3 separate regions of the Homo sapiens genome follow, and all the other regions are linked to region 3. Evidence: promoter capture Hi-C in 16 types of primary human blood cells and fetal thymus (Javierre and others, 2016). All regions are on one chromosome and are shown on one strand. The core of a region is centred on a gene start or on the middle of the fragment in contact, and the rest is flanking DNA. Distances in the headings are between cores, read along the strand shown. Region 1 has its middle 5.6 kb from the start of PACS2. Region 2 overlaps AHNAK2 (AHNAK nucleoprotein 2). Region 3 holds the start of JAG2 (jagged canonical Notch ligand 2).

Region 1 (4,226 bases), core at 28-2,527, 140 kb before region 3:
AAAAAGGCCGGGCACAGTGGCTCATGCCTGTAATCTTAGCACTTTGGGAGGCCGAAGTGGGTGGATCACCTGAGGTCAGGAGTTTGTGACCATCCTGGCCAACATAGTGAAACCCCATCTCTACTAAAAATACAAAAAATTAGTGGGGCATGATGGTGCGCGCCTGTAATCCCAGCTACTCGGGAGGCTGAGGCAGGAGAATCGCTTGAACCCAGCAGGCAGAGGTTCCATTGAGCCAAGATTGTGCCACTGCACTCCAGCCTGGGTGACAAGAGTGAAACTCTGTCTCAAGAAAACAAAAATGTATGTGAAAATGCATGTCCATGTGCAGTATGTATTTACATGTTAGTGATTATACATATAAAACACCTATTTTCAGGTATAGAAAAATATTGATAGGATACAAATTAATCCAAAGTGTTAAGAAAGTATCTCTGTGTGATGGGGATTCCATTGATTTGGTTTCTCCTTTTTGCTTATCTTTATCTCCTATTTTCTCCATGATGAACATGTATTAATTGTGTAGGGAAAATCAAACCACAGCAGGGTGAGCTGCCGCTGGCTGGAGAGCCGGGCGCCATCTGGCTGGGGCTGCGCCCCGTCCTGAAAAAACCAAACGTGCAAAGGGAACCCTCACCCAACGCAACAAACTATTGAGGATGATCTTTGTAAGAATACTGAATGTTTCACTAGGGTAACATTCTTTTTTTTTTTTTTTTTTTTTTGAGACAGAGTCTCGCTCTGTCTGTCGCCCAGGCTGGAGTGCAGTGGTGCCATCTCAGCTCACTGCAAGCTCTGCCTCCCGGGTTCATGCCATTCTCCTGCCTCAGCCTCCTGAGTAGGGGGGACTACAGGCGCCTGCCACCACGCCTGGCTAATTTTTTGTATTTTTATTAGAGACGGGGTTTCACCGTGTTAGCCAGGATGGTCTTGATCTCCTGACCTCATGATCCGCCCGCCTCGACCTCCCAAAGTGCTGGGATTACAGGCGTGAGCCACTGTGCCTGGCTCACTAGGGTAACATTCTTAATATCAAAGGAAATCATACAAGTCCATAAGACCACTAAAAAATTCCCAGTGGAAAATGGTTAGAGAAGCTACAAAAGATTCACAAAAGAATAAGTGAGACAGTTGTCACTACTATCACGAATTGTAAATTATAAAAAGATGCACATGGCTGGGTGCGGTGGCTCATACCTGTAATCCCAGCACTTTGGGAGGCCGAGGCGGGTGGATCTCCAGGTCAGGAGTTCAAAACTAGCCTGACCAATACACTGAAACCCCGTCTCTACTAAAAATACAAAAATTAGTCGGGTGTGGTGGCGGGCGCCTGTAGTCCCAGCTAGTCGGGAGGCTGAGACAGGAGAATTGCTTGAATCCAGGAGGCGGAGCTTGCAGTGAGCCGAGATTGTGCCACTGCACTCCTGCCTGGGCAAGAGAGTGAGACTCCGTCTAAAAAAAAAAAAAAAAAAAAAAAAAAAAGACACACATCACCACCTTCTCCTTAATGCAGGCTAATCTAGACCTAATACAGACCTAAGGTCGTGATGACATCCTCGGTGTCCTGCACGCTGCTCCCCTCCTGGGTTGGGCGCAGGCAGCGCAGCTCCCTCACACAGCACCTGGGGCAGGACCCAGAGCAGCTCTGCAGAGTGGCTTGGCAGCGTCTTGGGAGATTTGCCTGGGCTCATGGGTATCCCATGGCATCCTGCAGGTGACACTGGAAATGTCAACAGGGACACAGGTCCAGGTGTGTGAGATATTTCAAACAGCAACACCTACAGAAAGGAATGTCCAGTCCAGGGGAAATGACAAAACTTGCCCTGGCACATCCACCCCATGGGATGTGGAATAACCAGCAAAACGGAACGCTGCCTCAGTTTTAGCAACATGGGGAAATTCTCAGATATGTGATTGTGTGACAAATCAGGGTGTAAAGTTGAACACAGCATGACCTGGATTCAGGAATAAAACTCTCCCCTCTTGACTGTGGTTATCCTGAGCCCCAAGATTAAGAGGGACCTTGATGCATAAATTTTAACACTTCTTTCTTTCCCACAATAGAATATCATCACAATAAGCCAGGACATAACTTAAATATTAGAAAAGAAAGGAAAACACCCAGGCCCTAATACAGAAATCAGCCAAGGACATTCACAGACATCAGAACAGCAATTACCGCAACACGTGTCAACCAACACTCAACCTCAGTGCTCTTCGTGCAGGATGGATTTCTGGTTTTGTTAGGTTTTGTTTGTCTTTTTCTTTTTTTTTCTTTTGTTTTCTTGACAGGGTCTTGCTCTGTCAACCAGGCTGGAGTGCAGTGGTGCCATCATGGCTCACTGTAGGCCAGATCTCCTGGACTCAAACCATCCTCCTGCCTCAGCCTCTCAAAGTGCTGGGATTACAAGTGTGAACCACTGTGCTGGGTCCCTAAGGGTTTTAAAAAATTATTTATTTATTTAGAGACAAAGTCATGGCTGGGCACAGTGGCTCATGCCTGTAATCCCAGCACTTTGGGGGGCTGAGGCAGGCGGATCATGAAGTCAGGAGTTCCAGACCAGCCTGGCCAACATGGTGAAACCCTGTCTCTACTAAAACTGCAAAACTTAGCTGGGCACAGTGGCTCATACCTGTAATCCCAGCTACTCAGAAGGCTGAGGCAGGAGAATCACTTGAACCCAGGAGGCGGAGGTTGCAGTGAGCCAAGATTGCACCACTGCACTCCAGCCCGGACGACAGAGCAAGACTCCATCTCAAAAAAAAAAAAAAAAAAAGACAGAATCTGCCTCTGTCGTGCCCAGGCTGGAGTACAATGGTGCCATCTCAGCTCACTGCAACTTCTGTCTCCTGGGCTCAGGCAATCCTCCCTCTTCAGCCTCCCGAGTAGCTGGGACCACAGGCATGTACCACCACACCTGGCTAATTTTTGTATTTTTGTTAGAGATGCTGTTTTGCCATATTTCCCAGGCTGGTCTCAAACACCTGGGCTCAATCAATCCTCTCACCTCAGCCTCCCAAAGTGCTGGGATAACAGGTGTGAGCCACTGTGCCCGGCCTAATTGTTTTTTTGGGGGGGACAGAGTCTCACTCTATGGTCCAGGCTGGAGTGCTGTGGTGTGATCATAACTCACTGCAGCCTCAGTCACCTGGGTTCAAGCGATTCTCCTGCCTCAGCCTCCCAAGTAGCTGAACTAGAGGCACGCACCACCACGCACAGCTAATTTTTAAATTTTTTGTAGAGACAGGGATCTCACTTTGTTGCCCAGGCTGGTCTCGAACTCCTGGGCTCAAGCTATCCTCCCACCTCTGCCTCCCAAAGTGCTGGGATGACAGGCGTGAGCCACTGTCCTGGCCTGGCCCTTGACTTCTGTGGTGGAAGGTGGACTGGAGCCTCACCAAGTCTCACTCGAGTTGCGGAGAACAGACAGGAACAGGGACTTGCCTTCTGAGCAGTCTGTCTACCAGACACATGTCCTCCATCATACTCCGCAGTGCTAGGGTGGGCTATTCTTATCCCTGTTATGCAGATGAGGAAGTAGAAACCTAGAGAGATTGAAGCACTTGCCCAAGGCCAGGCAGCAGGTGAGAAGGTGAGAAGGCCATAGAAGCTTGCTTTCTCATTTCCCCTGCTGACTGCTGCATGGGGGGACAGGGCTATTGAGTACCCAGGAGTTATTTTGATCAAATGTGATAAGATGACAGACACAGAGACAACCGCCTTTGAAAGAGGAGTTTATTACTCACAGTTCCCAGGAGGAGGGGCACGTGGGGAAGCACCCAGGGCCAGTCAGGACAGGGAGGGGGTGAAGGGAAAGGGTGGGCAAGAGCCTTTATTGCCATTTTCCAGGCAAGGCAGAGGAGGCAAGCTGAGCAGAATTAGAACTGGGTCATTTCAGTGGGCTCTGGGCTTGGGGGTGGTATCTAGCTAGCTGGTACCTGGCCTTGGGGTGATTTAGGGCAGGGGGCTAGTGTTCAGGAATGCAGGAGCCTGATGAAAGGAGGCAGGTGGGACTCATGATGGTTGCTCTGCATATCAAAGGTATGCTCAGCCTGCACGGTGGCTCAAGCCTGGGATCTCAGTACTTTGGGAGGCTGGGGCCAAAGGATCTCTTGAGCCCAGCAGTTTGAGACGACAGTGAGCTATGATCATACCACTGCACTCCAGCCTGGGTGACAGAGTGAGACCCTGCCTCAAAAAAAAAAGAAAAAAAGAAAAAATAAAG
Region 2 (4,381 bases), core at 696-3,195, 230 kb after region 3:
CGCATTCAGGCCCCTTCCGCCGACCTGGAGGTCCAGGCTGGCCAGGTGGACTTGAAACTTCCAGAAGGCCACATGCCCGAGGTAGCCGGCCTCAAAGGGCACCTGCCCAAGGTGGAGATGCCCAGTTTCAAGATGCCCAAAGTGGACCTCAAGGGCCCCCAGGTGGACGTCAAGGGCCCCAAGCTGGACCTGAAAGGCCCAAAGGCAGAGGTGATGGCCCCCGATGTGGAGGTGTCTCTGCCCAGCGTGGAGACGGATGTCCAGGCCCCAGGATCCATGCTGGATGGTGCGCGGCTTGAGGGGGACCTGTCCCTGGCCCACGAGGATGTAGCTGGGAAAGACAGTAAGTTTCAAGGACCAAAACTGAGCACGTCTGGTTTTGAATGGTCGTCAAAGAAAGTTTCCATGTCTTCCTCTGAAATCGAAGGAAATGTTACATTCCATGAGAAGACTTCCACATTTCCCATTGTGGAATCTGTTGTTCATGAAGGTGATCTTCATGATCCATCTCGCGATGGTAACTTGGGGCTTGCTGTTGGAGAAGTTGGAATGGATTCGAAGTTTAAGAAACTGCATTTTAAAGTGCCCAAAGTTTCATTTTCTTCTACCAAAACTCCTAAAGATAGTTTAGTCCCAGGTGCAAAGTCTAGCATAGGTCTTTCCACGATTCCTTTATCATCTTCAGAATGCTCAAGTTTTGAATTACAACAGGTTTCGGCTTGTTCAGAGCCATCCATGCAGATGCCTAAGGTGGGTTTTGCTGGGTTTCCATCATCCCGGCTTGATCTCACTGGTCCTCACTTTGAATCTTCTATTCTCTCTCCCTGTGAGGATGTTACACTTACAAAATACCAGGTGACTGTTCCCAGAGCTGCCTTGGCCCCTGAGCTTGCTCTGGAAATTCCTTCTGGGTCTCAGGCTGATATTCCTCTTCCCAAGACAGAGTGCTCCACTGACCTGCAGCCTCCAGAGGGAGTTCCAACATCTCAAGCTGAGAGTCACTCTGGCCCACTGAATTCCATGATTCCTGTTTCTCTTGGTCAGGTATCTTTTCCTAAATTCTATAAACCAAAGTTTGTGTTTTCAGTCCCCCAAATGGCAGTTCCTGAGGGAGACCTACATGCAGCAGTGGGTGCCCCAGTCATGTCTCCTCTTAGCCCTGGAGAAAGAGTGCAGTGCCCCTTGCCAAGCACCCAGCTGCCATCCCCAGGCACCTGTGTGTCTCAGGGCCCAGAAGAGCTTGTGGCCTCCTTGCAGACATCAGTAGTGGCCCCTGGAGAAGCCCCTTCTGAAGATGCTGACCACGAAGGGAAAGGGAGTCCCTTGAAAATGCCTAAGATTAAGCTTCCATCATTTAGGTGGTCCCCGAAGAAGGAAACAGGGCCAAAGGTGGACCCAGAATGCAGCGTGGAGGACTCAAAACTCAGCCTGGTTTTAGACAAGGATGAAGTGGCCCCGCAGTCTGCCATCCACATGGATCTGCCTCCTGAGAGGGATGGAGAGAAGGGGAGGAGCACAAAGCCTGGCTTTGCCATGCCAAAACTTGCACTTCCCAAAATGAAGGCTTCTAAGAGTGGGGTCAGCCTGCCACAGAGAGACGTGGATCCTTCCCTTTCTAGTGCCACAGCAGGGGGTAGCTTTCAAGACACAGAAAAGGCCAGCAGTGACGGTGGTAGGGGAGGACTTGGTGCAACAGCAAGTGCCACAGGAAGTGAGGGTGTGAACCTCCACCGGCCACAGGTCCACATTCCCAGTTTGGGCTTTGCCAAACCTGATCTCAGATCCTCCAAGGCCAAGGTGGAGGTGAGCCAGCCTGAAGCTGACCTGCCTCTTCCCAAACATGATCTGTCTACCGAAGGTGACAGCAGAGGATGTGGGCTCGGGGATGTCCCAGTGAGCCAGCCTTGTGGGGAGGGGATAGCCCCCACACCTGAAGATCCCCTCCAGCCATCCTGTAGAAAACCAGATGCTGAAGTCCTCACAGTGGAAAGCCCAGAGGAGGAAGCCATGACCAAGTACTCGCAGGAAAGCTGGTTTAAAATGCCCAAGTTCCGCATGCCCAGCCTTAGGCGCTCTTTCAGGGACAGAGGCGGGGCTGGAAAGCTGGAAGTGGCTCAGACACAGGCACCGGCAGCAACAGGGGGTGAAGCAGCAGCTAAAGTCAAAGAGTTCCTTGTTTCTGGGTCAAACGTGGAGGCAGCTATGTCCCTACAGCTCCCAGAGGCAGATGCAGAAGTGACAGCTTCTGAGAGCAAATCATCCACAGATATTCTAAGGTGTGATCTTGACAGCACAGGCTTGAAGCTGCACCTCTCCACTGCTGGGATGACTGGGGATGAGCTTTCCACTTCTGAGGTCAGGATCCATCCATCCAAAGGACCTCTCCCTTTTCAGATGCCTGGCATGAGGCTTCCAGAAACCCAGGTTCTTCCAGGAGAAATAGATGAGACTCCTCTTTCCAAGCCAGGACATGACCTTGCCAGCATGGAGGATAAAACAGAGAAATGGTCTTCCCAGCCTGAAGGTCCACTTAAATTGAAAGCTTCAAGTACTGATATGCCATCCCAGATTTCTGTGGTTAATGTGGATCAACTGTGGGAAGATTCTGTCCTAACTGTCAAATTCCCCAAATTAATGGTACCAAGGTTCTCCTTCCCTGCCCCCAGCTCAGAGGATGATGTGTTCATCCCCACTGTGAGGGAAGTGCAGTGTCCAGAGGCCAATATTGATACAGCCCTTTGTAAGGAAAGTCCGGGGCTCTGGGGAGCCAGCATCCTGAAGGCAGGTGCTGGGGTCCCTGGGGAGCAGCCTGTGGACCTTAACCTGCCTTTGGAAGCTCCCCCAATTTCAAAGGTCAGAGTGCATATTCAGGGTGCTCAGGTTGAAAGTCAAGAGGTCACTATACACAGCATAGTGACACCAGAGTTTGTAGATCTCTCAGTACCCAGGACTTTTTCCACTCAGATTGTGCGGGAATCAGAGATCCCCACGTCAGAGATTCAAACACCTTCGTACGGATTTTCCTTATTAAAAGTGAAAATCCCAGAGCCCCACACGCAGGCTAGAGTGTACACAACAATGACTCAACACTCTAGGACTCAGGAGGGCACAGAAGAGGCTCCCATACAAGCCACCCCAGGAGTAGACTCCATTTCTGGAGATCTCCAGCCTGACACTGGAGAACCATTTGAGATGATCTCTTCCAGCGTCAATGTACTGGGACAGCAAACACTCACATTTGAAGTTCCTTCTGGCCACCAGCTTGCAGACAGCTGTTCAGATGAGGAGCCAGCAGAAATTCTTGAGTTTCCCCCTGATGATAGCCAAGAGGCAACCACACCACTGGCAGATGAAGGCAGGGCTCCAAAAGACAAACCAGAAAGTAAAAAATCTGGTCTGCTCTGGTTTTGGCTTCCAAACATTGGGTTTTCCTCTTCTGTTGATGAGACAGGTGTTGATTCCAAAAATGACGTCCAGAGATCTGCTCCCATTCAAACACAGCCTGAGGCACGACCAGAGGCAGAACTGCCTAAAAAACAGGAGAAGGCAGGCTGGTTCCGATTTCCCAAATTAGGGTTCTCCTCATCTCCTACCAAGAAAAGCAAAAGCACCGAAGATGGGGCAGAGCTGGAAGAACAAAAACTTCAAGAAGAAACAATCACGTTTTTTGATGCCCGAGAAAGTTTCTCCCCTGAAGAGAAGGAAGAGGGTGAACTGATCGGGCCTGTGGGCACTGGGCTGGACTCCAGAGTGATGGTGACATCCGCGGCAAGAACAGAGTTAATCCTGCCCGAGCAGGACAGAAAAGCTGACGATGAAAGCAAAGGGTCAGGCCTGGGACCAAATGAAGGCTGAGAGGTATGGCTCATCAGTACAAGAGAGATGCAAAAAACTAAGTTGGAAAGTAAAGGCTACACACACATATGGAGCACCCCATCCCACAGCACATTACATCCACCTCACTTCACAGAACGGAGAACAGAGCAGAAATGACCAGAACACCTTTGTCACCATCACACAGCCCTCCTAAAATGGAACCAAAGCTTCCCAGCTCCCTCAAAGCTTTGGATGCAAAGAAGGCACCCTGACTTCCACAAGACACCAGAATTCACACGGTACTCAGAGGCACTGCTGGGGAAGTTTGTTGGTCTTTATTAGATAAATTTCCAGAGACCTGTCCATAATACCCAACAGAACATGACTGTTTCTTTGAGGAAAGGGTTATAATGTCTGTGGTGTACAAGTCGTTTTTGGTATAACTTCTTTCCTGCTGCTGCTGCTTCCCGGCAAACATAGTTTTCCTATTTCAGGCAGAGTGCGGTATATTCCAGGAAACACTGTTTCCTACTCACTTAGCTTACTTCTTTGTTGAATGCCTCAC
Region 3 (4,534 bases), core at 18-2,517:
CTGAGCCTGCGGCCTGGATCCTGGAGGAGCTGCTAAACAGGGATGGAGCAGGCAGACCCTGCGCATGGGGTGTTCACAGGCCCTGTGCCTCCAAAGCTCTCTTCCTTCAGCCCTCAGCCCCAGCAGCATGGTGGCAGTGACTTGCTCCAGGCTGGGGGGCTGCACAGCCACCCAGCTCCGGGCACAGGGCAAATTTGCGAGAGGAGCTAGGGGGAGAGAAGACAGCTCAGTTATCATGGGGATGGGTTGAGGACCCCTCTGGACCATATGGGGATCTTTAACCACCAAGGTGACCCCTAGCTCTGGAAAGGACCGTGCTCACTGGAGGAGAGGAAGGTGCCATTGGTTTTGACCCTGTGGAGGAGCTGCGAGGTCACCCAGGGAGAGGGCAAGGAGGTGACCGCAGAGGATGGGGTGTGGAAGCCTGGTGACCAGGGCAGCAGTGGGAGGCCTCTCTCGGGGTAGCCTTCAGGGACAGGCACTGCCGACTTTTGTTCCCCATTTCCCGCCTCTCGCCCCCCAAGCCCAGACCTGAGTTTGGGGGGCGAGAGGCGGGAAACGGGGAATGTGGCCTGAGCATTTCCTGAGGGCATGGCCTGGCTACCTCGACGCCAGCGCCGAGCTGAGCAGTCTGCACCCTGGAGCATTTGTTGACTGGCTGCTTGACCAGCGCGCCTCGCAGAGGGGAAGGCAGGGGCGTCGGAGGGGCGCAGCGCCCCCTGCAGCCGGCGTGGAGGCGGTAGGAGCGGCGCGGAGAAGGGGAGATTCTCGGAGGAGGTGGGGGGCGCGCAGTAGGGGCTGGGCCCGGCTCTGGCCCCAGGGCCGCGCCACCCCGCGTGGGGGCCGAGCCCTGATCAGAGTAGGAGGCGGCATCTCCTCTGGGACTGCGAGGAGCGCGGCGGTGGCGCACTGATGGGAGGGGACCACACGGCAACCTCGGGGCGCCCCACCCCCGGTTTCTGACACCCGGCAGGAGCCCAGGCGGAGGAGGGGAGGCAGCTTTGCGGCGCCGGCGCACGCCTCGCCGACTCACGCGGAGGTGTGAGCGGGGCCCCCGCGGCCCGCGCTGACCCCGAGGCCCCGTGCCCCCGCCGCCCGGGCGCCCTGGGGGGCGCGCGCCGGGCCGGGGCGCTGGCAGGCGACGCCCTCCACCGCCTTTAAAGCCTGGGGCGCCCCCGGACCCCCCCCCGGCCCCACCCCGCGGCGCGGCCCCGCCCCCTCATGCATATGCAGGTGCGCGGGTGACGAATGGGCGAGCGAGCTGTCAGTCTCGTTCCGAACTTGTTGGCTGCGGTGCCGGGAGCGCGGGCGCGCAGAGCCGAGGCCGGGACCCGCTGCCTTCACCGCCGCCGCCGTCGCCGCCGGGTGGGAGCCGGGCCGGGCAGCCGGAGCGCGGCCGCCAGCGAGCCGGAGCTGCCGCCGCCCCTGCACGCCCGCCGCCCAGGCCCGCGCGCCGCGGCGCTGCGCTCGACCCCGCCCGCGCCGCCGCCGCCGCCGCCTCTGCCGCTGCCGCTGCCTCTGCGGGCGCTCGGAGGGCGGGCGGGCGCTGGGAGGCCGGCGCGGCGGCTGGGAGCCGGGCGCGGGCGGCGGCGGCGGGGCCGGGCGGGCGGGTCGCGGGGGCAATGCGGGCGCAGGGCCGGGGGCGCCTTCCCCGGCGGCTGCTGCTGCTGCTGGCGCTCTGGGTGCAGGTGAGCGGGGCGGCGGGGGCGGCGGGGGTCGCGGACGGGGCACACCGGGCCGCCCCTAGGGGCCGGGCGGGCACTGCCTGGGGCCGCCGTGGTTCGGAAGCCCTCGAGGCTGCGCGCGGCGGCTGGGGCTCCGGGCGGGCGCGGCTGGGTGGGGGCGGGGCGGCGGGGCCTGTTCCCCCACCCCTGGCGCCCGGCCCGCCGACCCCGGCCCGCGCCTCCCTCCGCTCTCCCGCTGCCTTATTTTTAGGCGGCGCGGCCCATGGGCTATTTCGAGCTGCAGCTGAGCGCGCTGCGGAACGTGAACGGGGAGCTGCTGAGCGGCGCCTGCTGTGACGGCGACGGCCGGACAACGCGCGCGGGGGGCTGCGGCCACGACGAGTGCGACACGTACGTGCGCGTGTGCCTTAAGGAGTACCAGGCCAAGGTGACGCCCACGGGGCCCTGCAGCTACGGCCACGGCGCCACGCCCGTGCTGGGCGGCAACTCCTTCTACCTGCCGCCGGCGGGCGCTGCGGGGGACCGAGCGCGGGCGCGGGCCCGGGCCGGCGGCGACCAGGACCCGGGCCTCGTCGTCATCCCCTTCCAGTTCGCCTGGCCGGTACGTGCGCTCCATCCCTCGTGCTCCAGCCCTTCCCTCTCTCTCCGCGCCCCGGCCCCGCGCGCTTCGCGACCCCCAACACCTGCGGCCGGGTCTGCGTGCGAGCCGCGCGCGCCCAGGCGGGGCGGGGCCGGCAGGGGGCGCGTGCTCTGGGGACTTGGTCCGCGCCTGGCCACGTGGGCGCGCCGGGGCCCCGGGGCCACCGGGAGCGGGGTCGCGGCGGGGGCGGGGCGGCGGCGTCCCGCGTGCGCGGCGGTGTGCGGCGTGTGCCTGCGTCGCCCTGCGCGTGTCTGTCTGGGTGGGGAGGCGAGGCGAGGCGCCCCGGTCCCGGGCAGGCCGCGGTGGCATGTGCGCAGCGCGTGCTGGGGCTGGTCTAGGGCAGGCCCTGACTGAGCCGCCCCGGGCCCGTGGCCAGCCTGCGCCTGCCCTGCAGTTTCCTGGATGCCTGGGGGGCACGGGCGGGCGCCGTGGGACCTAGGCCCGGGAGAGCCTAACGCCTAACGCTTATGTCGGCAGAAGCCCCCGATGGTGACCCAAGATCGTTCAGAGACAGAGATAGTGGATCCTGGTGCAGTGACCTTCTGTGGCACTGCCCTGTTTGTGGGTTTTTTTGGTTTTGTTATTCTGGAGGGGCAGAAGCTGAGTCGGGGCTGTCTGGTCTCCCCTGGCAGGTGGCCAGTCAGGCAGGAGCCCTGGCCTGGGCGTGCTGGGAGGAGGGGTGGTAGGGGTCCAGTGTCACTGGGAAACAGGTACTCATCCCAGTGGGCTGGCAGGTGGGTAGTGGTAGGTGGGCAGGCCCAGGCCTCGGGCGCCTTACCTCATTGCCTGGAGCACGGCCTTGCCCTGGTGCCCAGAGGTCCTTCCCTGCTTGGTCATTGTGCTGGGGGCCTGGAACTGGGTGAGTGCGGGAATGAGAGCACCATGCAGACCTGTGATCAGGGAGTAGATGGATCTGGGAGCCAGGAAGTGGCTCCAGTCAGCAGGAGGCACCGGAGTGTGCCCACCTGGTATCCTGGGCCCTGAAGTGATTGTGAGTTGAGGGCAATCCCTGCCGAGCTCACGCCAGTTGGGCCTGCCGTGTGTGGCTCCCAGTCCTGTGCTGTACCTTTGCAGCCCTGGCTGGCAGCCTTGCCTGCTGCCCCCATCCTCACCGCTTCCTGAGCTCCCACCCGTGGAAGCTGGCCACAGTCTCCTCTGGCCATGTCCTCAACCCGTGAGCACCCCGCCGAGTATCCCTTGACCAGGGGGGCCCCAGAGAGGGGAAAGTGTCCCCCAGATGGAAAAGGCAGGGGCGGGCATGGGAGGGCCCAGGCAGTTGTGAGAAGCCCAGCCCCTCGCCCCCACGGCGGTGCAGCAGGCAGGTCTGAGCAGGGCCCGCAGCCTGTCATCTGCACCTGGGCCTGAGCCAGCGTGGCCCCACATCGCTACCTGAGGATGTGTTTTCTGCTCGAGTTGGCAGCAGTGGGTGTGGGGGCAGGGAGGTCTTGGAGGAATGTGGCGGGCTATCGCGTGTCCGCCCTGGCTCTTCGCCCCGCGGGCCAGCCGGTCAGGTGTGGGATGGGACCGGGTAGGCCCTTGCCTTCCTTGGAGTCCGGGCACTGGGTTTCGGGGCCAGCTCACCTCCCTGCCTCTTGCTTCCAGCCGGTTCCTCGAATGCCCCAGGAGGGGGCAGGCGGCCTGTCTCTGGGTTGGGGGCCAGGGCAGAGTCATAGCTGCGTGTTTGGGGGCAGCCCTGGTCTCCTGCCATGTGGCCTGGCTGCCGGGCGGGAGCTGTGCCGTGATGCCAGCACCCTGGTATTTGCACTCGGGCGGCGGCAGTCCCTGGCCATGCTGCCCTGGCTTGCTGAGGTCCAGCTCTGTGCGGTGAGCTGAGGTGTACTTGGCTGTGATGGGAAGGCAAGGACCGAGTTCAGGCTCCCTGGGACCTGAGGAGGGGTTTCAGCCTGGAGGCTAGGGTGGCATCCTGCCCAGGCCCGTGGGGCTTTTGGGCTCCTTGGAGTAAAGGGAATGAGAGGGCCTTGTGGAAGAGGAGTGGGGGAGTCTGGGCTCTGCATTCGCTCCCTCCACCCCCTGCCCCCTGAGTGACTCTCCCACCTTGTGGTCTCTGCTGTTGACCCAGGCCTGGCTGGGTGGCCCTCTGCCCCCTGGCCTGGCTTCTTGTGGCCGGGGTCTGTGTGCTATTAGTCATGGATCTGTGCTGGTCTCGGGCTCAGCTTCCCTCAGTGGGTGGGCCCAGGGTCTTGAATGT

Evidence for each region. Contacts are between HindIII fragments. The CHiCAGO score rates a contact against its expected background, and 5 or more counts as called.
Region 1: a fragment that was not itself captured here is called in contact with the fragment with the promoter of JAG2 in region 3 in 2 of 17 cell types (endothelial precursors and naive CD4 T cells); the score reaches 6.5 in endothelial precursors.
Region 2: a fragment that was not itself captured here is called in contact with the fragment with the promoter of JAG2 in region 3 in 1 of 17 cell types (naive CD4 T cells); the score reaches 5.1 in naive CD4 T cells.

Annotation. Positions count from the first base shown.
Region 1 is chr14:105,307,033-105,311,258 of GRCh38, reverse strand. It overlaps a transcript of BRF1 not described here, the pseudogene LOC124903409 and a transcript of PACS2 not described here. Among named protein-coding and RNA genes, the nearest start is that of PACS2, 5.6 kb to the left of the region's middle. The HindIII fragment of the contact is 4,673 bases long and covers 1-3,613 here.
Region 2 is chr14:104,937,537-104,941,917 of GRCh38, reverse strand. AHNAK2 (AHNAK nucleoprotein 2) reads left to right here. Exons shown (of 7, transcript NM_138420.4): 7 at 1-4,381. The coding sequence ends at 3,855. It also overlaps a transcript of PLD4 not described here. Among named protein-coding and RNA genes, the nearest start is that of PLD4, 15 kb to the right of the region's middle. RefSeq lists an enhancer at 1,923-2,423. The HindIII fragment of the contact is 1,198 bases long and covers 1,347-2,544 here.
Region 3 is chr14:105,165,509-105,170,042 of GRCh38, reverse strand. It overlaps JAG2 (jagged canonical Notch ligand 2), which reads left to right and starts at 1,267. Exons shown (of 26, transcript NM_002226.5): 1 at 1,267-1,688; 2 at 1,936-2,286. The coding sequence starts at 1,623. RefSeq lists an enhancer at 2,046-2,545. The HindIII fragment of the contact is 17,945 bases long and covers 1-4,534 here.